Linked DNA regions of Homo sapiens: regions 1, 2, 4 and 5 are each linked to region 3. The links are contacts of gene promoters, found by promoter capture Hi-C in blood cells and fetal thymus (Javierre and others, 2016). All regions are on one chromosome and are shown on one strand. Each heading gives the region's core, a stretch centred on a gene start or on the middle of the fragment in contact. The rest is flanking DNA. Distances are from core to core; before and after follow the strand shown. Region 1 has its middle 6.5 kb from the start of FBXO10. Region 2 has its middle 150 kb from the start of ALDH1B1. Region 3 holds the start of SLC25A51 (solute carrier family 25 member 51). Region 4 has its middle 110 kb from the start of SHB. Region 5 overlaps LOC107987064 (a long non-coding RNA gene).

Evidence for each region. The method cuts DNA at HindIII sites, captures the fragments that hold promoters and counts their contacts. A CHiCAGO score of 5 or more calls a contact.
Region 1: a fragment that was not itself captured here is called in contact with the fragment with the promoter of SLC25A51 in region 3 in 4 of 17 cell types (megakaryocytes, erythroblasts, endothelial precursors and 1 more); the score reaches 14.3 in megakaryocytes.
Region 2: a fragment that was not itself captured here is called in contact with the fragment with the promoter of SLC25A51 in region 3 in 5 of 17 cell types (endothelial precursors, M0 macrophages, M1 macrophages and 2 more); the score reaches 11.2 in endothelial precursors.
Region 4: a contact is called between a fragment that was not itself captured here and the fragment with the promoter of SLC25A51 in region 3, in 4 of 17 cell types (endothelial precursors, M2 macrophages, M1 macrophages and 1 more). The highest score is 9.7, in endothelial precursors.
Region 5: a contact is called between a fragment that was not itself captured here and the fragment with the promoter of SLC25A51 in region 3, in 3 of 17 cell types (M1 macrophages, M0 macrophages and endothelial precursors). The highest score is 8.1, in M1 macrophages.

What each region holds. Positions count from the first base shown.
Region 1 is chr9:37,580,320-37,585,345 of GRCh38, forward strand. No RefSeq gene overlaps it. Among named protein-coding and RNA genes, the nearest start is that of FBXO10, 6.5 kb to the left of the region's middle. The HindIII fragment of the contact is 4,363 bases long and covers 1-3,479 here.
Region 2 is chr9:38,244,451-38,249,307 of GRCh38, forward strand. No RefSeq gene overlaps it. Among named protein-coding and RNA genes, the nearest start is that of ALDH1B1, 150 kb to the right of the region's middle. The HindIII fragment of the contact is 1,157 bases long and covers 2,559-3,715 here.
Region 3 is chr9:37,902,591-37,907,107 of GRCh38, forward strand. SLC25A51 (solute carrier family 25 member 51) reads right to left here and starts at 1,537. Exons shown (of 3, transcript NM_033412.4): 1 at 1,478-1,537. It also overlaps the pseudogene PAICSP1. RefSeq lists a silencer at 978-1,737. The HindIII fragment of the contact is 4,581 bases long and covers 180-4,517 here.
Region 4 is chr9:38,179,757-38,184,704 of GRCh38, forward strand. No RefSeq gene overlaps it. Among named protein-coding and RNA genes, the nearest start is that of SHB, 110 kb to the left of the region's middle. The HindIII fragment of the contact is 3,172 bases long and covers 1,195-4,366 here.
Region 5 is chr9:38,200,869-38,205,503 of GRCh38, forward strand. LOC107987064 (a long non-coding RNA gene) reads right to left here. Exons shown (of 2, transcript XR_001746667.2): 2 at 1,092-1,390. Among named protein-coding and RNA genes, the nearest start is that of SHB, 130 kb to the left of the region's middle. The HindIII fragment of the contact is 8,239 bases long and covers 1-4,635 here.

The DNA.
Region 1 (5,026 bases), core at 48-2,547, 320 kb before region 3:
GTTTACTGGCAAATGTATAAGTGAACACACAAAATCTCCTCAGCCATGGGAGCTTTATTTACTTTGCTTTCCAGAAAAAGTAGGCTCACACAGAGTGGTGTCCCAGGTCAACATAGTGGACATGCCATGCTTTTTGGCTGCCCAGCATCTGAGGTCCCTTCCTACATTTGGGAATTCCTTGTTTATGAGTTTGCTGGGAAGCAGAACATGCCTTTCACTATAGAAGTGGAAATTCCAGGTATTTTCTCTGCTTCTCCTTGTGATTCTATCATGCTACAAATTACTCTTGATTTTGAATTAAGTACCAGAGACACAATAAAGTCTCTGGAATAATTTTCTCTGGGACCATGGCAAGTGCGGCAAGTTCTTAGAGCAACACTGGCTGCCATGATCCAGGGTTCTGTGCATGTGGCTTTGGCAAAGTAAGTGGTGGCACCTAATGTTCAGCAGAAATGGCGTCCTCACTGCCCCAGCTCTGTGGAGTATGACCAAGGAACAAAGGGTGATGTTCCAGTTGCCTACTCTCCAAGCCTAATTCTCTAGGCCTCCTGGTGATACTGAACTCCCTGTTATCCTTTTAATAAAATACTTTTCTTTTTCTGTCAAAATTGGATTTTGGTGTTTGCAACTAAAAAATCTGACTCACATAGTCACATGATAAATAGCAGAGCTGAAACTATAATCTAGGACATTGAAATCCTAATTCTAGTATTCTTTCCATGTAGACAGATCTCTACTTTCCAACAACCCACAATTTTTACATTACATATCGCTGTCCCTAAATCATTTTGTTCACCGAATTTATACTTGAATATGTAAGCTGATTAGTGAACATTTCAAGTGACTGTATTTCAAATGCAGTATTATCTTTGTACATCTGTTTATGTAATAGTTTCTTTCTTTTTTGCATTTTTGGCCTCTATATACTTAAGTGGAAATGAAAATACCCCGCACTTGAACAAACGTGGGAGTTAGGGGCCCCGACACCTGCACAGTCACAAATCTGCATGTAACTTTGACTCCCCAAAAACTTAACTACTAATAGCCTACTGTTGCACAGAAACCTTACCGATAACATAAAAAATAGATTAATATGTATTTTGTATCATTATCTATTATATACTGTATTCTTACAACACAGTAAGCTAGAGAAAATGTTAAGAAAATCACAGAGAGAAAAAGCATTGACAGTACTATACCGTATTTATTTAGATTCTAAGTTTAGGTTGTCTGTTTACAAGATTAGTCGTGTCTGAAATCAGAGCAACTACAGCTGCAGACCTCAATCTATAGTACATATCAAGAATTCAACTTTTTCCTTTAATGTCATGACTTTTCTCTGCTTCCTGGGAGCACTTCCAGCATCACTAGTGGCACTCTGTATAGATCCCATGGAGTTATTCAAAGTTTTGTGGTATGGTATTAAACACAAAAAATACATGAGACAGAGAGGGATCGCTTTTACTTTGATTTGCAATTTACTGGAGCGAGGAACTGCTCATGCAGAGATGAGTGTCACATGGCATTTTAAGTGGATACCTATAACACTTGAGCTCCCTGCAGTGGCAACAAGAGGTGGCTATGGACTTACTGTATTACACTATTACAAAAGATAATTTTATGCAGTTATGATTTAATACTGCATCTTTCTCTTGACCTCAAATTGTGCTATGTATGGTCTGTGTACATAAGTTTTGATAAATCTTAATTTTTTATAATAGATGTGTGCATTTTATGAGTAAGACTACAATCTACATATATTTTATGCATTCATGACATCCTTTATCTTAAATTTTTTCAATATTTCTAGACTACATATGTGTGCTTTTTTCAAATTGTTGCAAATCTCCGATTTTTCAACGCATTTTTTGAAAAAAATCTGCACGTAAGTGGACCTGTGCACTTCAAATCTGTGTTGTTCAAGGGTCAACTCTACTATTACTAATGTGACTGAGAAAAAGATGAAAAACTATTAGACACGCTTAAAGTAGATCTTTTTAGCCTTATAATGACTGTTGGACTAAAACCAGCTGTGTTTTATTTCTGAATGAAAGAAACAATTTAAGAACATATTTCATAACTCTGAAAATATTTCGTATGTTTAAAAGACAAAGTGCATAAATGATTTTGTAATGTTTTACATCTCAGTAACAAGTATATTCAACTTTTACATATGTGATTTCTATGTTTTGTGTACTTATGCTAAAGTAGGCAACTGACACCACATAGGCATATCTGTAATACTGAGCATACACAAGTAGCATGTAAGTAGCAACTGTTCACTGTCTCCTGGGTGATGTCCATAACACAGAGTAAGGAAAAGGTCTTGTGTTTTATCTCAAATTTATTATGACAAATTTCAAAAAATACGTTATTAAAGGTTGTTCTTGTGTAGTGGAATTTGGAACTGCAGTATACACAATAGCCAGCAGATGTCAGAATGGAATCTCTTAAGACTCAAGTATGAAAACACAATAAATAACAGGAGTTTCTGGAAGGACTGAGGCTTTCTTGCTCTTCTGTGCACAACACACTTCAGTCACACTGGTCTTTCTTCCTCAAATACATCTGCTTTAACACTTTTTCAAAGATGCCCCGCTCTATCTGGCCAATTCCTATTCACCCAAACCTTACTTTATGTGTCTCTTCCTAAGGGAGTCCTCCCTACTGCCTCCCAGGCTCAAAATCGAACCCATTATTTTCCCCTTGAAACTTGTTCCTTACTTCAGCGAATGGCACCGTCAACCCTGCACTTAAACCAGAAATCAGGGAGTCTTCTTTGATGCCTTTCTTTCCTCACTACACGTATCTAAATAAATGCTGAGCTGCTCATATACCCCTCTGACCTCTCCTTCAAATACAGTACCCATATTGCATCCAATATTGTTTTAAGTGGACAATTCTGAACTCCCCACCTTGATCAACATGATCTTTGCCTGACCCTCCCTTTACCTAGTCACCCTAGATAACCTGGACCTATCCCTTCAGGTTCCTTTAAATGTCATGTTTTCAGGTAAGTTCTCTCTGAGCCTCCAGCAAGGTTTTCAGGTCTTTGAGATATTTACTCACATGGCATCTTATGGCAGATTATAGACCTCAAAAAGGCAGTCCCCCTGCCCGTCCATATCCTCAACTCCTAGCACAGTGCCTGGCACATAGCAGGAACTCAGTAACGCTGATGAATGAATTTGTAATCTCAGGGCTTTGATCTATGATAAAATGAACATCTTTAAAGTAATAAAAGTGATTTGGTGACCATTTCACACTTAGCCAAATTTTACTCTTTACTTTAGAAGGTGTCCTGTAGGACAAATCCGGCCAGCCATCTTTTCTGTAAATAAAGTTTTATTGGGACACAGCCACACCCACTCATTTGCATATTGTCCCTGGCTGCTTTCATACTACCAACTGCAGTTGGCAGCTGAGAGATCGTAAGAGCCCACAAAGCCTAAAATATTTACCATTTGCCCCTAACAGAAAGCTTGCCAACCCCTGCTTTAGTGGCTTGACGACTGAGCTACATGCAGAATTTATGACATGATCAAGCTATAAAAGCAAAATAGAGTAAAAAGAATGGTGCCTGGATCTTGTAAGAGACAAGCTTAGCTCAAGCAAAGAGGGGGAAGAGAACAAGAAGTCCTGATTCCTGTACTTGTTCTTCATTCCAAATGTAGGCCCAAATTTTCCAGCCTGTGAACTGCTGAACATGTTAACTGTAATGCTAACTTACTCCACAGAAGAACTATAAAGAGCAATGATAAAGCAGTTTTTTTTTTTAATGTTGCACTGACAGCAGGAAGTACACTACCTTAACTTAGGAGCAGCATTCCTACTAAGCTGGTAACCTGTTTGTGGAGAATAAACATTTTTCACTATCCCCATTTCTTTCAACGTACCCCTTTCAAGAGTTTACCAAACTCAAATTTGCTATGGTTCTTTCTTATTTCATGTTACATATTCAAACAAACAAACTGTATATATCTCCCCAACTGTTTCTTAATGTACTATTTTAGAACTGCTTATTCCAAGTATTGAGCCCCTCTGTGGCGTTTATGGCCTGAAAGTTAAAAAGCTGGTCACAAAAACTGAACCATCACATTTTCTCTTACTCCAGCCTGAACATACACTAGAATCCAGGGTAACAATTACACTATTTTCCTCCAAGAAAAGCATGTAAGGATGGGGTACAAGGAATAAATAAACATTAAAAGTCCCCTGGATAAGCACAGACTGACTAGAAATAATTTTTTTAAATGAAAAAAAAAAAAAAAGTCCCCTAGGCCTTGGCCAGCTGCTACTCATTGGCCACTGAAACTTGCAGTCTCAACCTCTCCACCTGTAAAATGGCATTATTATTGATTGGTTAAGGCTATTTTTAGATAATGAACTTAAGTGTTTGGTAAGTTTGAAGTTTGTACACAATTAGAGGATGAGTATGCTATCTCAGAGCATCTGGAAATAGGAATGAGATCTGTCTATGCTGTGAATGCCAGCACAAATCACTTCTAAATGCCTTATACCAAAGACTAGCCATTAATAACATTTACCAAATGTCAAGCAATTGTGCCAGCTGCTCTACTTGCATTTTTTCACTTAATCCTTACGACACTTTGAAGTAGAGAGATGTTTCTATTATCCTAATTTTATAGTTAAAGAAAATGAGATTCGGAGCTCACTTGCTGAAAATCACCCATCTCGTAAGTATTGGAGCCAACATTCAAAATCAAGTCTGCCTGTCTTTAGAGCCAGTATTCATATGACCACAGTGCCATACACTACACCTTCTTAATTTAAGAAATAAATACAAAACCACAGAATTAAAATACATGCTTTCCAGGTTAAGATGGTAGATGAAGCACGTATACCTACCTCCACTCCCTCCCAAAAATCCCATTAAATGACGGTAAAGGTTTTTGTTTTAAGATATAAACCTAAAAGGATGGAAGAAAAGAGGAAACAGGAATAAAACGTTAGAAGCTGGAAAATAGGTAGATCAACAGTAAATAATGTAGTAGACTCTGAAAAA
Region 2 (4,857 bases), core at 1,887-4,386, 340 kb after region 3:
GGGCATAAAAGGGGTGCTGTACAACATATTTAGCAATTTTAAAACAATCATATTCTAGTTCTAATTACAGTGAGTATGAGTTTAAAATTTCTATTTCATTTAACATCCTGTATTTTGGTTTAATGTACATACGGTACAGAAATTTTAAGTATACAGCTCAATGAATTTCGAGTGTTCTTTGATGTTCTACAATTTTCTTTTTGTTACATATACAAAATGACTGTTATAATAATGATTATTAAGAAATAATGGGCCGGGTGTGGTGGCTCATGCCTGTAATCCCATCACTCTAGGAGGCTGAGGCAGGTGGATCACCTGAGGTTAGGAGTTCGAGACCAGCCTGGCCAACATGGTGAAACCCCGTCTCTACTAAAAATACAAAAATCAGCCGGGCGTGGTGGTGCATGCCTGTAATCCCAGCTACTTAGGAGGCTGAGGCAGGAGAATCACTTGAACCCAGAAGGCGGTGGCTGCAGTGAGCCGAAATTGCACCACTGCACTCCAGCCTGGGTGACAGAGCAAGACTCCATCTCAAAAAAAAAAAAAAAAAAAATTAATAATGTAACTCTTTTGAAACTTCATGTGGGAAAGGGGCATCTTTTTCTCATTTGCCTTCTGATGCCATGTGAACCGGCAGTTGGACCTCTGAGGACAGAGATGTGTGCCCTGAACAGGGTAAAGATGGACACTTCCTCACTCAGTACAGAAGGCTTGGGAAAGTTGTGGTCAAACTGGTTTTTTGTCATTTGAAGATTTATGAAACCTAAGCTAGGAGAACTTGCTATTTTGAATATCTCACAATATGAGGACTCCATTAAAGCAGGGGAAACTGTATACTTAGCTTTTGGAACATTGAAATTTCCTGCTATACTTCCTTCCACTTCCCTTCTTAAACTTTTTTGCCCTTAGTAAGCACCTTGGCTGGTTATGGTTCCTTGCCTGGTGGAAAACTCACATCTGCATTCCTGAAGAGCCTACGGCATTAGACTATGCTGTTATTTATTTTATTTTATTATTTTTTTTGAGACGGAGTCTTCGCTCTTTCGCCCAGGCGGGAGTGCAGTGGCGCTATCTCGGCTCACTGCAAGCTCCGCCTCCTGGGTTCACGCCATTCTCCTGCCTTGGCCTCCAAAGTAGCTGGGATTACAGGCCCCAGCCACCACACCCGGCTAATTTTTTGTGTTTTTAGAAGAGATGGGGTTTCACCGTGTTAGCCAGGATGGTCTCGATCTCCTGACCTCGTGATCCGCCCGCCTCGGCCTCCCAAAGTGCTGGGATTACAGGCGTGAGCCACCGCACCCAGCCTATGCTGTTATTTTAATGAACGTTTACCATAAGCCATGGGGGTATTAAGAGGCATTCCAGAAAAATCTCCTGGGTTCCAGAAAGACTCCTCTTTGTCCTCATCGTGTAGTAGCAGCTTACTTCCCCTTTGGTAATCAGGACTAATCACTCCAGTGAGGACACTACCTCCTTCCTTGCCTCTTGGTTAAATGGCACGGGGGGCCCAGAGTAGCCAGGGGGCAGTCTGAGCTTCCAGTTCAGTGGACTATGGTTGTGTCCATTGATGGAAGTGGCTTTCCTTTGGGAATCAAGACTTCTGCACCAGGGAGCTCAAAGCCACAATGATAGAAATGAAAATGTTGCTTGTGCTTCATTAAGGGTAGTTGTGGTATGAACTACTTCTGTTTCCTTCCATTGATTCCTGGACCCATGAATGCTAGCTGTGGGAGAAACAGTAGCAGACATTGGTCACTGAGTTAGAGCATATACCCCATTCCACAGGACATTACCTCAGCCCTGCAAAGGTTTGTCACTTGGCAGGTGCCATAAATGAGTCTATCAAAGGCCAATCCATTGTTGTATCAGGCCTGCTGTTTAGAGGATGTGGTCAGGTCAATGATTTCTGTGACCTTGAACCAAAGGATTATTTCAGGGCAGTCATCAAAGCCTTGTCTTTTCCTACCTGGCCTTGAGTTGGTCACTTTAAGCCCAAGGTCACCATTTTCTTTTTTCAAATTCATCATCACAGTCAGAAGTAGCTAACTAACCTACAGTCCTTACATGCTGTTTCCACTGTTCTGTTACAGCAGCTAGTCGGTCACCTGACTTTTTCTCCACGTACCTGACTTCAGGTGACTACAGGTAATAACTTAAGGAAATGTTTTGCCACTTTGTGCCATGGACTACCATGATTTTGCAATGGTGACATTTCTGCCCTTAATTCTAATAGTAGTGAAAGAATTTCACATTCCCATTCTTAAAGACCAGTTCCCCTGAACAACTAGTGGTTTCATTGAGGAAAACAGAGCTATTATAAGTATTATGGGAATAAAGGGTTTAACACAGGAGTTGGGGCTTATGCAAATCTGGGAGTAGTAGTGACAGTGAGGTTCTAGAAAGGGAATGTTGAAGCATTGGAGAAACCATTGGTAACCACTTCTGTCTGAAGCCAGGTGCAGCTGGCGGGGACGAGCTTGTGGGAAAGTCTGAGGAACTGCATGCATCTGGCCACCAAAGTGCATCCATGGGGTGAGAGTTCACGGGGTGGTCGGCAAAGCTTTGGTGTCCGTTGAAGCTGCCATGCCTAGTGACGCTGCCACTGTGCCTGACTGGCATTCCCTCCCAGCAGCAGTGGCTTCCCTTTTCCTTCTTCCTTCCAAATTTTGCGTGGGTTTCTCCCATCAGTAATCCCCATCCTGGAAACACACACAGCAAACAACATACTGGGAAGCATCATTCCAGCCTGAAACAGGAGATGGTGCCAAGTTGACAACAAGACAATCCAGCCCAATGTCCAACAATGGGGGATTGGTTCAATAAATTACGGTAGGGCCATGTAGTAAAATCCTACACAGCCTGCATTCATCAGGGATCAACCAGAGAAACATAACCAGTAGGTTATATATTCATTTATTGCTTGTTGCTTGCTTGCAAGGAATTGGCTCACATAGTTGTGGGGTCTGGTTAGGAGAGTTCAAAATCTGTAAGGCAGCCAGCAGGAAAGGCAGGCTGGGACTCTTGGGCATCATCTGAAGCTGCAGTCCACAGGTAGGATTTCTTCTTCTTCAGAGGACCTCAGGTTTGCTCTTAAGGCATTCCAATAGATTGAGTCAGGCTCACCCAGATTGTCCAGGATAATCTCCCTTACTTACAGACAACTGATTATGGACCTTAATCACATCTACAAAATGCTTTCATGGCAATATCTAAATTAGTGTTTGACTGAATAACTAGGGGACTGTAGCCTAGCCAGTGTGACACACAAAGCTGACCAACCCACAGCCATAGAAAAGAATCACATAGATCGATATGTGTAATGTGATAATTGATGCTCTAGAAGAACATTAAATGATATGGAAAGGTATCCAAGAAATATTAAGTTAAAAAGGCAGGTTCTAAAACAGTACGTAGAGTATTATTTTGTTTGTGTAAAAGGATGTCTAAGTATAGAGAAAGTAGACTAAAATATCACACGAGAATATTCAGAATGGTAATTACTGAGTGCTGAAAGAATGGGTAATGAAAACGTTCTCATTTTTGTGTATGCGTATTTCCTAAATCATTTACAATAAATACATGATACTTTATAGTGAGAAAAAGTTTAAATATTCTATTTTAGACACATTAGGAAACCTTGCTAATTAAAGAACAGTAGGCCCCTTCGTGGTGTGGGGCGTGGGGGAGGGATTTCCTCTCTCTTCTCCACTCCCTAAGCTTCTCCTTCTCTATCTACTTGCAGACACCAAAGTTATTTGCAAGACAGAAAGCTCTCAGGTCTTACAATGGAAATCTTTCCCTCTTATTCCTTTCCCTAACAAGTATGCGTGGATGCTGTGGGTGAGACGTTGAAAGTAAGCATTTTAATTTAGTATACACAGTGGAGAGAACCTTTAATATAATATTAATTCACTGTGCAAACTAGCAAGGTTTAATAACCATGTGAGCCATCGGGAATCCTGGTGTGACTCAAAATGACATCTGCATTAATGGTCTAATTAATAATGCATATGTTAATAAAATCTCATTAAAGCCAAAGTACAATTATTCACGTAGGATGCAATTCTTTAGCATCTGTGGGCCAATGTAGTGCTTTGGTGATGCCAGTTGCAATTTCCAATGATAGATGACCTTTTAATTCTCATTAATTGATTAAAGAGGCAGTGATTAGTGTAAAAACTCAACTCGTTTGGAAGTACAAAAATCACTGGTAAGACAATGATGATTACAAATCAGGAGGAACCAGGCAGCCCATCACAGGCATCTGCGTGTGCACAGTGAGTAATAAGAGATGGTAGGCAGGTAAAACAAGGCCAGTCATCCATGTCTCCCTCACTGCACCACAAGCCTGGGGATTGGACTCTGCTGCTATCAACAGTTTAATAAGAATTATATCAACACTGATTAATTCTTATGGAAAAATTATTTTTTAAAGGAAGCACCATAAAGTTAATTGACTAATTTGATTACTTTTCAGTTTCGTTTTCTTCTCAAGTTTTCCCATTCCCATTTTGGTCTTACTAAAATTATTTCAATCAAACTGTTTCACCATGAAGACTTGGTTTACCAGTCAGTTTGTTTTTTAAAAATTGACTTATGAGAGTGTCATTTTTTTTTTTCTTTTATGGCCATTATTTCCACCAAGCCCAAGTTTCCTGGGTCGTATCGAGCCAATCAACATAGTGTCAAGAAGATTTGAAGCTTTGGTCAATTTTTAGTCAATAAAAATTTCCACCCCGTGGACTTCTAGCCCCTGTCAACATTTTATGCTGACTACTGCCACCAGTCATTATGATCACATGTTGGGTAAATGACTAAGAGCTTATCTTTATTTCTAAGTTAACCCATGAAAAAAAT
Region 3 (4,517 bases), core at 287-2,786:
AACATGGTTAAATTTCTTTGCTAAACTGATCTTTATATTTTTATTCATTAATGTGGATAATTCTTTGCAATTTATTGCAAAATTTATTTACCATAACTTTACGCTTGTTTGCTACGTAAAACTATCTCATCATAAGGGAGCAGTTAATGAACTTGATTTTCAAGCAACTACAAGTGTCAAGCTTCTGTGACTAAGAAAACAGTGTAAAGTCTAAAACCTTATTATAATTTACAGCCTACATGGATCAGCATGATACAGATATGATCCTAGCACAAAGGTCTCTGCAAAAACTGGGGAGAGGGTGACTCCAATTCTCAAAGGATGTGAATTTCCACTAGTCAGCAGGTCTGAGTCAGCATTCAGAACAAGATCAGCCTGGGTCTAGTCCTAGTTACGACACTAGCTTGCCAATATAAAGACAAAGCAATATCTGATTTTAAAATCCACTGATCTGAGTTTGCTTTCATTTACCAAACGAGAGATCAGATGAGTCAACTCCTAGCTTGTTTTCCCCTGAGATGCGCTAAGGGTGATTCCAGTTCCAAAGCGGTAACCTGTGCTCTAAACCACTATGGGACCTCAAGAGTCCTAGCACCTTTTGATCCTATGGAATCCTTTCAAAGCACGGGCAGAGGCGGCTCAAAATGGCAAGGTCACTATACATTTCAAGGGCTTCTGTTTCAGAGATTACAAGTAGAGAAAAACAGAAGGTGGGAATTAAGATCAGCTAGGTAGAGCTGTGAGATGCAAAACAAAGGTTTTGCAGGAAGTTGAGGTGCTGACATACTCCATCTAGCTAAACTGAACACCAAATAATGGATGGAGACTAACACCACCAACACCATCGTCCCCGAAAATCCTTGTACAAGTGAGCTTCCTACAACGCGATGCAATATGCTGTCGCAGAACAAGCACTGCCAGGCTATGTAGCTGAACTTACCGTTCTCCAGGCGTCCATTTCCCCAACCTGTGAAAGGCGGGGAGGGGGTTGGACAAGATCACTAAGTCCTCTTCCGTTTCTGACACTTCACAGTCAGGGGTCCCGAGGTGAGGCCGAAATCCCAGTCTCCCGGGACGCAGAGGCCCTTGCGCGGTGCCATCCCCGCTGTCCCCCGGGCGCAGGCAGCTCCCGGCTCCTCCCCGCCCCTGCGGTTCCTGTGCACCAGGGAGGTGCCTCCCCAGCCCAGGGCGCGCCCGAATGAAGGGACAGCGCCTTCGCGGGAAAGGTCGCCCAGCAGCCGGACAAACACCCGCGGCAGGCGGGGGAGCCCGGAGCCGAGGAGGCTCAGAACTGATTCCGCCCGCGCCGCCTGGGTGGGGCCCGCAGGGACCGGGCCAGGGCAGCCGGAGCGCGCAGAAGACAGGGATGGGCCCCCAGGGCGGCAGCCTGCCCCAGCGGGCCCTTCAGCGCGTTTCCCCTCCCTCCAACCTCATGCGAAGAAAGCCCGGTGCTTCCCCACGCTCGTCCCACACTCACCCATCAGCGCCGGCGTCCCGCAGGACGGCTAGCGAGCCGGGGCCCGCGCAGGCGCAGACTGTGACCGACCCCGAGGTTGGGGCGCAGCGCGACGCGCTGGGCGCTGTTGGGGTCACGTGAGGGAGACACCGCCCCGCCCCGCCTCCCCTCCCTCGGCCCGCGGCCCGCCAGATGTCGCCAGCCTACTTCTCCTGGCCGCAGGCCGCCGCGGCGGGGCAGGTAGAGGGCCACGCCAGCACACCTGTCAGGATGCGGGCTCCGCTAGCCACCATGCTTCACCCTTGATGCCGTACGGTGGCCTCAGCGTGCCAGAAACAGCCAACGCGTTCTCTAGCGCGCTGCCTGCAGGGGGCGTCTGGGCATTGTCGGTTTTAGGGGCCTTGTCGGTTCTGCGGGGCGAGCGCCTTCGCGGAAAACTCCAAAGTACCCTCTGTGGAGCCTTGTTGAGTATCTTCAAACCTTCAGAGGGACCTTTTATCAGCGACCCATGCCGCAGTTTACAGAAGAACGCTTTGTGCGTGCTTTGGGACGTATGGATCACTTTTAAACTTTTTCCTTTGAAGCTCAGACAGCTTGCGGGGGGCTTGGGAGGAGCGCTGCCCGGGGAGTTAGAAGGCTTGGGTCAAAGTCATAGCCCTCATACTTCTTGAGAGTGACCTTGGGTGAGTCGCTGGACCCTGAGCCCCAAATCTCCGTCTGAAAAGTAACCCATGCCTTGTATGCGTCCTCGGGCTGTTGCAGGAGTCTTTGGAAATGATGGTTCTGACTCTGAGTTGGAAACTGGAACGCACACAACAGATGGGAGGCGTTGAAGGAAACAGAAAGGTCGGCCTGAGGGGAGAGGCGTTTCAGGAGGCTTGCGGATGTGTGAAGTGTGCGCACTGTGCTTGGGGCGAGCCCAAGCAGTAACCCCACCCGAGTGAAGCGTTCTTGGGGGGATCGGCTCCGGGTGGGCGACGTTCCCCGCGTGCCCCCTTCCCCCGAGAGCACTTTGTAGACACTGACTCCAAAAGCGGGTCTGGTCTCTGCCCAGCCCCACTTTGGCTGGCGTGCTTAGGTGCCTCTCGGGAAGCTGGAGACCACCCTCCCCCATTCCAGCAAACGCTCCATTGAGGAACCTACTGCGTGCCAGGTCCTGGGGAGCTTAGCGTCTGATGAAGGATACAACAACAAAAGACTGGAAATTCAGAAGCATGAGGGGACCTCCCCCCTCGAGGGAGAACCAGAGATGGCTTCACAGAGCAGACGTTTGAACTGGGCCTTGGAGGATGGATGAGTGGAATTTGGCCCAGTGGAGAAAGTCATAGCAGCAGGAGATAAGATTGTAAGGGTCAGGTGGTGGGGCTGGATAATGCGAATCTTGACTGTCAGACACAGACACCTGCCATCTAATTAGTACGCGAGGGATAAATTTTGGACTCCGCAGGATAAGGACAAGGCTACACAATGGCTTAGAACAGTTAATCGGGCAACAGTTGGAAAGGGCCTTTGCCTCAAAATTATGTTTGCCCTGTCTTGTGTGAATGCCTATTCAGATGCATTATTTGAAAAATAAATAAACCAGGCAGGCATCCAGCGTGTTCATAAGCATAAATAATTAATTTCAGATTAGAATGGAGAGGTTATTCTCCTGCGGTAAAACCTGAACAAGAAGGAAAAGACTGAAATTAAACACACAATTGGGGCACACCAGACTCAGAAAATCCCAGGCTAACGGGAAAACTGAGGTCTGGAGCTGAGCCCAGTCTGCTTCTTTTATGCTGCTGCAGGCCACAGCACAGTCCTCTGCCCCTCCAGCTCTTAGTTCCTTGTCAGAAACCCCCAGGCCCTTCATTGGCTCTTCTTGGGCATATGAATGTTGGGGATGAAAACCCTCTATTTTTGGATACCAGATCCATCTTAAAGTTAGCCCTTCATTTCTGTCCTCATCCACCCATTCCTGCATTCCATACCTCCAACCACTAGGTCAGCTGCCAGATATCCTCCAACCCAGCTGTGATCATGTCATCCCGCAGCTTAAAAATCTCCAATGGTTCCCCCTTGGTTCCCTCTTGGTTCCCCCAGTAAATCCAAACTCCTTAACTCGGTGCACGGGGCTGTCCTGTCCTGGCCCTTTTGCCAGTCTGTCCACCTCAACCCCAACTATATTCTGTGCTTTAGCCATATGCAGTCTCAGTGTTTTGCAAATCCTGTGTTCCTTAAGCCTGTTTCCCCCTTTCACCACTGATACATGTTAGCCCTTCACCAAATAGCCCTTCAAGGTCCTTTTGCCTCCTCTCCCTCCTAGAAGGCTTCCCTGATCATCTCAGGCAAAATTGACTGTCCTTGCCCCTGCCTTCCCATGCCCCAAAGTTTGGGGCGCTTCTGACATCCTGTCCTATGTTGTAGTCACTCATGACAGTGTGATCTTTCCCACCGCCAGCTCATGAGGGCAGAGCTGTCTGGCTTTTTCCTGGCTCTCCAACTCAGTGCTTGGCAAAAAGGGCGCCTAGGAGATGTTTGCCGAAATGAAATGCGGGTGGAGAGCAGAGCTGTTGGAAGGCAGGGCCTGGGTTCCTGGGGGAAAGGGCCATAAGAAGGTTGCTGGTGGATCTTTGCTTAATCACCCTCCACTCCTCCCCTCAAAAAATGCTTTCTAGAAGGTTGTCTGGTGCCCTCAGACTTCATTGGCTCTTAGGTGCACGAAAACAGCCTTACGCAAGCTGTCAGTGGAGTATCAGCTACTGTGAGTGACTATCTCTGCCACTCCCCTTCACACCCCCAGTACCAAATGGCCAAGGGCCAGCCAGCCCCTTGGTGTTCCCTTCCCTGAACTTGCTGCATTCTTTTCACGTCCCCCAACGCTTGGGTATTTTTTGTCCTCTGTGCCTAAAAGGTCTTGCTTGCTTCATAACAATGTCCTGTTCCTCCTGCATGGCTCAGTTCAGAGGCTTCTGGTCACTGCTGCCCCATCTGAACTCACTACGTCCTGCTGCAGAGCCCCTCAGTGCTGTCAGCCCCACCCTCCCTTGCCCCCACCTCAGGTCCTTGCAGTCTGTCC
Region 4 (4,948 bases), core at 1,531-4,030, 280 kb after region 3:
GAGACTGCTGGGCAGCCTGTGCTGAGAGAGAGGGTGAGGACTTTGGTGTACTATGCCTGGAAGACTTGGATGTGGGGGCTGCCCTCCCAGATGGCTAAGGCCTTCAGGGTGTGCAGAAAGGGCCCCCCGTACTCTATGTGAAGGAACAGGTGAAGTGCAGGAGGAACGGAGGCTCTGGGGGTGCCCAAGTGGCTAGGCCAGACAAGTGGGTGCCCCAAACAACCAGGGGAATGGCAGGCATGAATGGCTGCTGGGCCAGCAGGGAGATGGGACTGTCTCCCAGAGCAGAGCTAAACACTACACCAAACAAAGCCAGTACCTTGCCCTTACCACAGGGGCCAATCAGTGGAACCATTAGCTACAGACAGAATGGACTAAGCCAAAGTGAGTGCTCCTCACTTCACTGGGTGCTCCTCACTCCCAAGAGCTATCCAGTTACATAAAGTGACACTGGCACTAGGGGCTTGAGCCTTGAAAATGAAGGGGGACAAGGAAGAGATTTTCTCAGCAGCAGAAAAAGTCCCTCCCTCCCTTCACTGCTCCCAGGACCGAGCTGGGGGCTGCGGGAGCAGCATTGGGAAATGCGACTGAAGTATTTTATTAAACAAAAACAGCTCCCATTATTGCTAATTGCTTTACATAGTTTCCCATCTCTGTAACCATCCTACAAAGGGGAGCGGGAGCTTGGGGCTCGGTGTGGTGAAGCACAGAATCGAGTCTACACAGCTGCTGTGTGACAGGACTGGGCATCAAACTCAGCTCTGTGCCATGACAAGACGACATGGCCTGAGAACAGAGCACAGGCTTTTAGCCACATAGCTAGTGTTTGGAGGCTCCTTGACTTATTTCTGGACAAAGTAGGGTCTAACTAAACTAACCAAATGATGTCAATCTTGGGGAGCAGCGTGCGTGCACATGCGTGTGTGTGTGTGTGTGTGTGTGTGTGTGTGTGACTTCCCTGGTCACAATGTAATGGAGGTTTCTAGATAATGAAATCTGATGCTTCTCTTTACAGGGTTTACAGGGTTTCCAGGTCATGTGCTCACCCTGGGCAAGTCTAGCATGAACCTGCTGGAACAGAATTCTTAGCTTCTGAGTAGGGATCACTGAGTCTGCTGCTGTGGAGTCTTTGACCTGGTTATTCATGGATGAACCATCTGTTTCCCCTTTGCTCTCATGGCTCAAGATGGCAAAAGCTTTCTCCCACCCTTGGCCACCTCTCCCTTCCATTGTTGTGGCCAGGTGGCTGCTGTAGCTGCCTGTTCTTTAGGGATGGCACCCCTGGAGTCAGAGAGTCCATCCCTGTCATCATTGCTGTTGAGACAGAGATGGTGAAGCAGCTCTTCTCTGGCATTGCCTGTCTGGATAAAGCAGGCACTTGACTTGGTAGCTCACACCTGAGAGACCTAGGGGACCTGTGCTTCCTGGGGACTTGGTGAGGGGGAGCAGAACAAAAGGCTGGTGGAAGCCTCAGGGGTAACTGTACCCTTCCCTGGGGATCTCCCCCATCCTGAAAGCCAGCCTGGCCTCTCAACAGGGGCCTGAATGGCCCTCCCTCTGCTGAATGTGATAGAAAAAGGGAGACAGGCACAGAAGGAGCTGTTTTCTCAATGCTTCTAGATGGAACAATATACGCAAAGACCATCTGAGTCACCCTCAAGGGAGGACTACAACTTCCAGATCACTGTTGGTCATTGACACATCACTGACCATCCTGCTCACGCTGCACCTCAGCAGTGGCTTTCCTCCTCCCTTGGCTAAATGCTCTTCTCTTTCAGTTGACATTCATGGGGCTTATGCATAAGTAGGACGCAGGCCTCCTCCCAGTGGGCGAAGGTGAGGGTGGACAGGGAGCACATGTCCCTCAGAAGTCTGTATTCCAACTAGGGGCAAAGAAATGAAATCCCAGTGCTGGTGGTTTCTGGTGCTCACTCCCAGTGCAGAGAAACTGCTCTGGCTAGGGGCCTGTCACAGTAGCCAGAGCTGGAAAGAAGCTCTGAATGTTAGAAATCTGGAGGAAAGCACAACTTCAAAGAGTCTTTTTCTAAGAAAAGTCCCTTTTGCTGCCCACAGGGAGTCAACTGCAGATACGGTTTTAAAATTTTTGTAGAAAGTCAGTCCTTCCTGTCTCCCTTCCTTATCCCCAGGCCAGAAGCAAATAAGTATTTCCCAGAGAGGAGAGGGCAGGAAGAGGAGTTCTGTGACCTGGGTGGGGGTTGCTCACAGGCCTGAGTACCCCAGTATTCATCATCCCTTTCCTCTTGCCTCTGAGGATGTGTATGTGCCTCTTGCCTCATTACCCATTGATTCATACCTCCCCAGCTGTGCCTGCTGCATGAATCGGATGGTCCTTTTGAATTCAGACATCTCAGACCTAAAGAGCTGCAGGACATGGGCCTACCATGCCTTAACATGTTGTTTTTCTTGCACACTTTGTCATTGGTTGGCAGAATCTCCACATCTCTTTCTCTGTCTCTCTTTTTTAAAAAAAAATCGCTTTATTAAGATATAATTTGCATAACACATGTCTTAGCCCATTTGCATTGCTATAAAGACATACCTGAGGCTGGATAATTTAAAGAGGCAAGAGGTTTATTTGGCATATGGTTCTGCAGATTGTATAGGAAGTATGGCACCAGCATCTGCTTCTGGCAAGGGACTCAGGCTGCTTCCACTCATGGCAGAAGGGGAGGAAGGGAAGCTAGCATGCAGACTTATATGGTGAAAGAGAAGGAGGGGCCAGTCTCTTCTCAACAACCAGTTTTCATGGGAACTAAGAGTGAGAACTCACTGCTGTGAGAATGGCACCAAGCCAAACACCTTCCTCTTGGCCCCACCTCCAACACTGGGGATCACATTTCAACATGAGATTTAGTGAGGCCAAACAAACCATGTCCAAACCATATAATCCACCCATTTAACAGTATGTACAATTCAATGGTTTTTTAGTACATTCACAGGTGTGTGCAACCATCATCATAGTCAATTTTAGAATATTTTCATTATCTCAAAAGAAAGAAATCCTGTACCTTTTAGCTATTACTCCTCTATCCTCCAACCACTGCCCCCCAGCCATAAGCAAGCAGAAATCTACTTCCTGTTTCTCTAGAGACCCCATTCTGGACTTTTATAAGAATGGAATTATACAGTATATTGTCACTCGTGACTGGCTCCTTTTACCGCACATCATATTTTCAAGGATTATCCATTTTGCAGTGTGTATCAGTAGTTCATTCCTTTCACACTGCTCTTGATGGGGGTGAGCAGGCTGAGTGTAGCTCCATGGAGTGGAGGAATAGCTATAGAGACCTCCAAGTCCAGGCTCATGAAGAATCTTGCTTTGTACCCAGGCTTGGCATGGTTCATTTCAGATAATTTCACTCACTTCCTCCTTAGGTGGTTGGTAAACTAGAGACCAATGTCTTCCCTTGACTGTTATTAGACTGGTGCACATGGTCTTTGTACTCAGCAGACAGGCTTCTCTGCCTGAGGCCACCATCATCTTGTTCTTTCGAAAGGACGTCTATTGCTTCCAGGTGTTCTGAATGCCCTTATTCCTGCTGTAAACTCATGCTGACCACGGAGAGCAAGCAAAGGCACTTATTTGCATCCTCTGCACATTTGTGAAGGAGCTTCTGTGGGGTTCTGTCTGAGCTCTAAATTCTTCCTGGAAGTTTTGGATAAGGAAACATTCTTGACATCCTTGCACTTGGACACAGTACTGCTGATGCTGTAACTGAAGTTTTAAACTGGTAATAGGTTGGCCTGGACTTTTTGTTAATTGAAAGTGACCACAAATCCATAAGATTTGTTCAAATGTCATTATGGGTCAGGAAGAAGAGATTTGGAAGAATTTGTCTGAAGATAAGCAATTGGACAAAAAACCCCACAAAACCATCTTATGTTTACGCCCTGCTGACTTCAGACTGTTCAATACAATGATTACACATTTAAGAACATAGAGGCATACATCCCATATAAATTTTAGTGTTAGTATTCAATTCAGTAGTATATTAAAAGAATACTACATTATGACCAAGTCAGCTTTACTACAGGAATGTAAAGGTGGCTCTTTATGAACAAGTGCATTAATGCAGTTTGTCACAGCAAGAGGTCAAAAGAAAATTTTTGGCAGTAGTTTGGAAACCTGTTCACACAAGACATTTTTATTTCCTTAGCATGGGTGCCACACAGAAACCAATAGAACAAACGCCATACTTGTTTGGGATGGCTATTTATGCTGCTTTGATAGACTTATCCTTAGAGAAACTATCTTGTTTGTTTGTGTTGCTAAAAGGAATACCCAAAGCTGGGTAATTTATAAAGAAAGATTTATTTGGCTTATGGTTCTACAGGCTGTACAAGAAGCTTATCTGCTTCTGGTAAGGGCCTCAAGCTGCTTCCCCTCATGGCAGAAGGAGAAGGGGAGCCTGAGTGTACAGAGATCACATGGCCAGAGAGGAAGCAAGACAGAGGGGAGGGAGGTGCCAGGCTCTCTTTAACAACCAGTTCTGGTAGGGACTGGTAGAGTGAAAATTCACTATTGCAAGAACTTCATCAAGCCATTCATGAAGGATCCACCCCTATGACCTAAGCACCTCCCATTGGGACCCACCTCCAACATTGGGGATCAAATTTCAACATGAGGTTTGGCAGGAATTACACAAAAATGATGCTGGGTGCTCTCCATGTGCTCTATCAGGAAGTGCACAATGCCAACCCATCACACTATTGTTGACTTAATTTTAATCTTCTCCTCCAACTTTCTCCACTGTGAAGGCACCATTTTCATTATGCCAGTTTCAGAGCATGTCCCCACAAATTAAATCATAAAATTAAATCATAATTTAATCCCTTTTGGAGGGAGTAAGACATTTAGGATTTAATTTTGTGCTAAAGAATAATAATACAAAAATAGCTATCATTTAATGACCATTTATTATGTGCA
Region 5 (4,635 bases), core at 2,125-4,624, 300 kb after region 3:
CCATGGGGCACTGGAGACTGCATAAGTCTGCAGGCAGGAGGCCAGGGTGCTTGCAAGTCCTGCCTCCCACCTGCTCACTGTGAAACCCCGGCTCAGTCCGTTCCCTTCTCCAGGACCCTTCAAGGTTCTCCCTGCTCAGACAGACTAGAAACAGTTCTCTGGAGATGCTTCCTTAACAGAGGCAGCAGCCAAAGCGGCTTATGCAGCCAGTGGCTTTTCCTAAGGACCTGCTCTGTGTGCAGGATCCTTTGTGTGTGTGGTGGGGGAGACAGGCCGGTGCCTCCCTATTTTCTCTTTATGGCTTTAATTCAGCCTCTCCACCTCTACCTCCTGCCTCCAGGGTGGAAAGCTCCCTTCTATCCTCTCATCAGCTTCCTTTCCTCTTTTCTCACTTGAGAAAATTTAATTTTAGAGCCAGAGAGTACCAAAGAGGCCTTTGGAGCTGGCCTCTGTTACAGTCTTTGAGGCTCTTTCTTGCACCGTTTGGCAAACTGAGGCCCAGACACAGGAAGGGCCTTGCCCAAGGTCCTATGATGAGTTTGCAGTGAAGCCAGGGCTGATCTTCCCCAGTGCACTTGCTTCCCTCTCCTTGAGGAACAGGAAGAGCCTGGGCCAATTGAGGTCAAAGTCACAGTGTTAATAGGAGTGATGGGCTTTCATACAAAGCCTAACATGGGATCCTTCCCGGACAATCCCCCGTTTTTCCTTCTATGAGAAAGGTGGGCTTAATCAAGGATGGCATCCTTGGACAAGAAAAGTGGGGAACAAGGGAGGCACAATGCCATCTAAAAAGCAACCCTGGGAGAGATTGTACCAAAGAATAGAGAGGAATGTACATTCCCTTTGCAGGATTCTGTGTGCAAAGGGTGTGTTTTCTCCCAGGAGTGTTTCCTATAATTAGAGCAAGCTGCCCACCCCCTCCCCCCACAGCAGCAGAGGGCTGCATGATGAGAACTGGTGGATCTAGTTCACTTGGAGGAGGCATCACAAGGGTTTTCCATACCACTCCTTATTAAGACAGCCAAGGATAAACATTAAAGCAAGGAAGATAAAGTCCTTGGAAAAAACCCAAACAAACAAATCTGCAAACGTTTTGTGAAGATTTGGGACCCTGTCACTTTAATCCTTCTATGATCCATCAATGCTGATTCTAATCCGGATCTTATCACCACACTTCAGTAGAATGCTTCTTTCAAGCTGGACAGAGCATTCTTTTTTTCAGGTTCCAGCATTTCTACCTTTGATGTTCCTGCTAACTGGGGCCCTCACTGATGAGATGCCGGGTGCAGCTTCCACTTGGGAACCTCTCTGACTCCACCAGGATGAGAAACAAAGAGTTGGAGAGGAGAATGGAGGCAGGTTTCCCCTCAGGCTCTGGCTGCTTCTCCTCCTGCATCAGAAGATCAAAGGGAGGGAAGAGTGAGGCCTCAGCGGGGGTGGGGGTGGGGGTGGGGGTGGGGTGGGGTGGGGTGGCCCTGCTCTGTGTGCTTCCCGGTAGGAGCCAATTTCTTCCCTAATTTATTGACCACCCTGACTCTTTCCTCATCTTTCTGATTAATAGTTTAGTTGGGGGTGCTAGGAAATTTACCTCCAGTTGTTACCATAGCAACCAGCTCTCTTGTACAGGATCCCATAGACAATGCATTTTGGGTCTTCGGCAGGAGCTGGGATTTACGAGGATCTCAGCATGTACCAGGGCAGAATGGGCAAGATGATGTTCCACTGATATGCTTAAGAATTATGCGTGGGGATAGGAAATGGTCTTGCCACACGGTAAATTGGGAAGGATGGTTTTAGTGCCTTTCCTTTCCTCTTGGCTTTGTCTCTCTCTTACAAGAGACCCCTCCCCCACAACATTCTCTCTTAGGTCCTCGGAAAACTAGTTCCTCACAGGACAAAGGCAGGGCCAGTTTGGTGGAAGTCACGGGGAGGCTCATTCCCTTTCAGCAAAAGGAAGAATTTGTAGTGGGTAGAACCAGCTGAAGATACAGTTGGCAGTCTTGGGAAGTAGTGATCCCTGGAGGTGTGTGAACAGGGGCCTGTCAGGGGCTCTAGAAAATATTGTATAGAGGACCGAGTGAGGGGTGGCATGTGTGGAACCTCTGGGTCCTTTTCATCCCTGGGAAGGGAGTTGCACTGTACCTGCTTGTGAGGCCAGCTCTCACCTCTCCCAACTAAGCAGAATATCAGATTTGGACATTTCAGTTCCCTGGGCCCCTGGGATGTCTTTGGTGTCCTCATAAACTCAATACCCAGTACACTGCCTGGCCCTTGGGTGAATGAATAAATTCCTTAGGCCTTTATTAAGTGTGTGGACACAACTTACTAACTGTTTATGTGTTCTTTTATTATGATAATAAAAATATACATTTCAAAGCATTGTCATATAACAACTGGAACTGGAAATGGAAAAAAATTTTGTTGCTTTTAAAACCCTATCCCAGGTGCTGGACTCATTCCCTTATTACAGTTGAGGCATAAAAGTGTTTGTCTTCCACAAACCATGTGGAAATGGTGGGGAGGAACTGAAAGCTCTCCTTGGACAAACCCCTTAACCTCCCTGTGCCTCCATTTTCTCATCTATGAAATGGGGGTAATGGAAACCATCAGGAATGATCAATTGGCTTTCACTTATGAGCTGAATGTGCTTGATGGGGAGATGCTTGGCTAAAAAGTGTGTAGCAATAGATTAACAACATCTGCCCTGGACACCAGATGTGGGGAGGATGGCACATGTGCCATATATTTGCCGTCCTTGGACCAGATGGTCTCAGAGAACCCTGATGGCTCTAGGTGCCAAGATGTGACGATTCTAGGCCACCTTAGTTGTTCTCTGCCTTCAAACCAACCTTCTTGGCCTTTCTTTACTCTCAAGCCTGTAAAATTATCAGGGAACTGACTTTGTTATTTCAAAACCTCATTACATTTTTCTTCTTCCTTCCTTCCTTCCTTCCTCCCTCCCTCTCTCTCTGTTTTTTCTCTTTCTTTCTTTCTTTCTTTTCTTCTTTCTTTCTGCTGGGGTCTTGCTCTGTCACCCAGGCTGGAGTGCAGTGGCGTGATCTCAGCTTACCGCAACCTCTGCCTCCTGGGTTCAAGCGATTCTCCTGCCTCAGCCTCCCAAATAGCTGGGATTATAAGTGTGTTCCACTATGCCTGGCTAATTTTTGTATTTTTAGTAGAGACGGGGTTTTGCCATGTTGGCAAGGCTGGTCTTGAGCTCCTGACCTCAGGTGATCCTCCTGCCTCAGCCTCCCAAAGTGCTGGGATTACAGGAGTGAGCCACTGTACCTGGCCGGAACCTCATTACATTTTTCTTTTCTCAACAGATTGACCTATGTAAAAGACCTCAGATTTGTCTAGAAGCAGGGAGATATCCAGGTTGGTTTGTAAATGATACAGATGGGAAATGCAGAATTTAGGCTCCAAGGAACACCTGGCCTGCAGCAGCTTGCATAAGAGCTATAGGCAAACAAGAGGCTGCTGAAATCTTTTGAAAAGACCTGCTGCAAGGAGTGGATGGAATGCATCCCACAGGGATTTATTCTGGGCACACAGCTGCACTCTAGGGCTGAGATTACTCTTTGGAAGCAAAAGACTGCATCCCTCAAGGGAGAGAGACCTGGCCGGGCCTTCTCAGGTACAACACTCTCTCCAGTATTTCCCCAATCTCTCCTCTAGCTCTGTCTGCTTCCACTCTCCCCACCCACCCCTGGCTACAGTCACGCTGGCCTCTGTACCATTCCCATGTCTGCCGCGTGCTTTCTTAACCCTATGCCTTTGCCAGTGCTATTCCAGCCACCTGTAATGATCTTCTCCACCCAGCAGACTCCTATTCATGTTCCAAGATTGAGCCACAGAGTAATCTCTGAGATGCCTTCTCAACCCTCTGAACCACATAGAGCCCTGCATCTCCTATCCCTTTCTCTACGTCTATACTGGCAATGTTGGTGAATCTCTACTTTTCTTGGTTCAGGGTAAGCCTGGACACAATGGAGTGAAACATCCCAGAATATAATCATTTTGTGACATAAAACAAAGATGGCTCAATTCTCTGATGAGAGCAGAGACTTGTTTCCATAAGAACCCTCTCTGGGAGCTCATTTCTCAGCTGAGGGCTGCTTGATGCTATAGGATGAATTCCTTTGGCTCATGCTCAGGCCTTTCATGGGGGCTGGGCTGAGGTCAGGCAATGGCCAGGTGGGCCCCATGGCTGGGCCTGACCTCATGAAAGAGCTTATATTTAATCTTTTGATGTTATCTCCTGTCTTTACCCATTTTTGTGTTGCTATAAAGGAATACCTGAGGCTTGGTAATTTATTTTAAAAAGAGGTTAATTTGGCTCATGGTTCTGCAGGATGTACAAGAAACATCGTGCTTCCTTCCCCCTCTCTGGTTTCCTCTCTAGCCAGGTGATATCTGCACACTCAGGCTCCCCTCTACCTTCTGCCATGAGAAAACCTGAAGCCCTCACCAGAAGCAGATGCTGCTGCCCTGTGTGGGCAGAGATCACATGGTGGGGCAGGAGGTACCAGTCTCTTTTTAACAACCAGTTCTCCAGGAAACTAATACAGCAAGAACTCACTCATTACCATGAGGATGGCACCAAGTCATTCATGAGGAATCTGCCCTCATAAC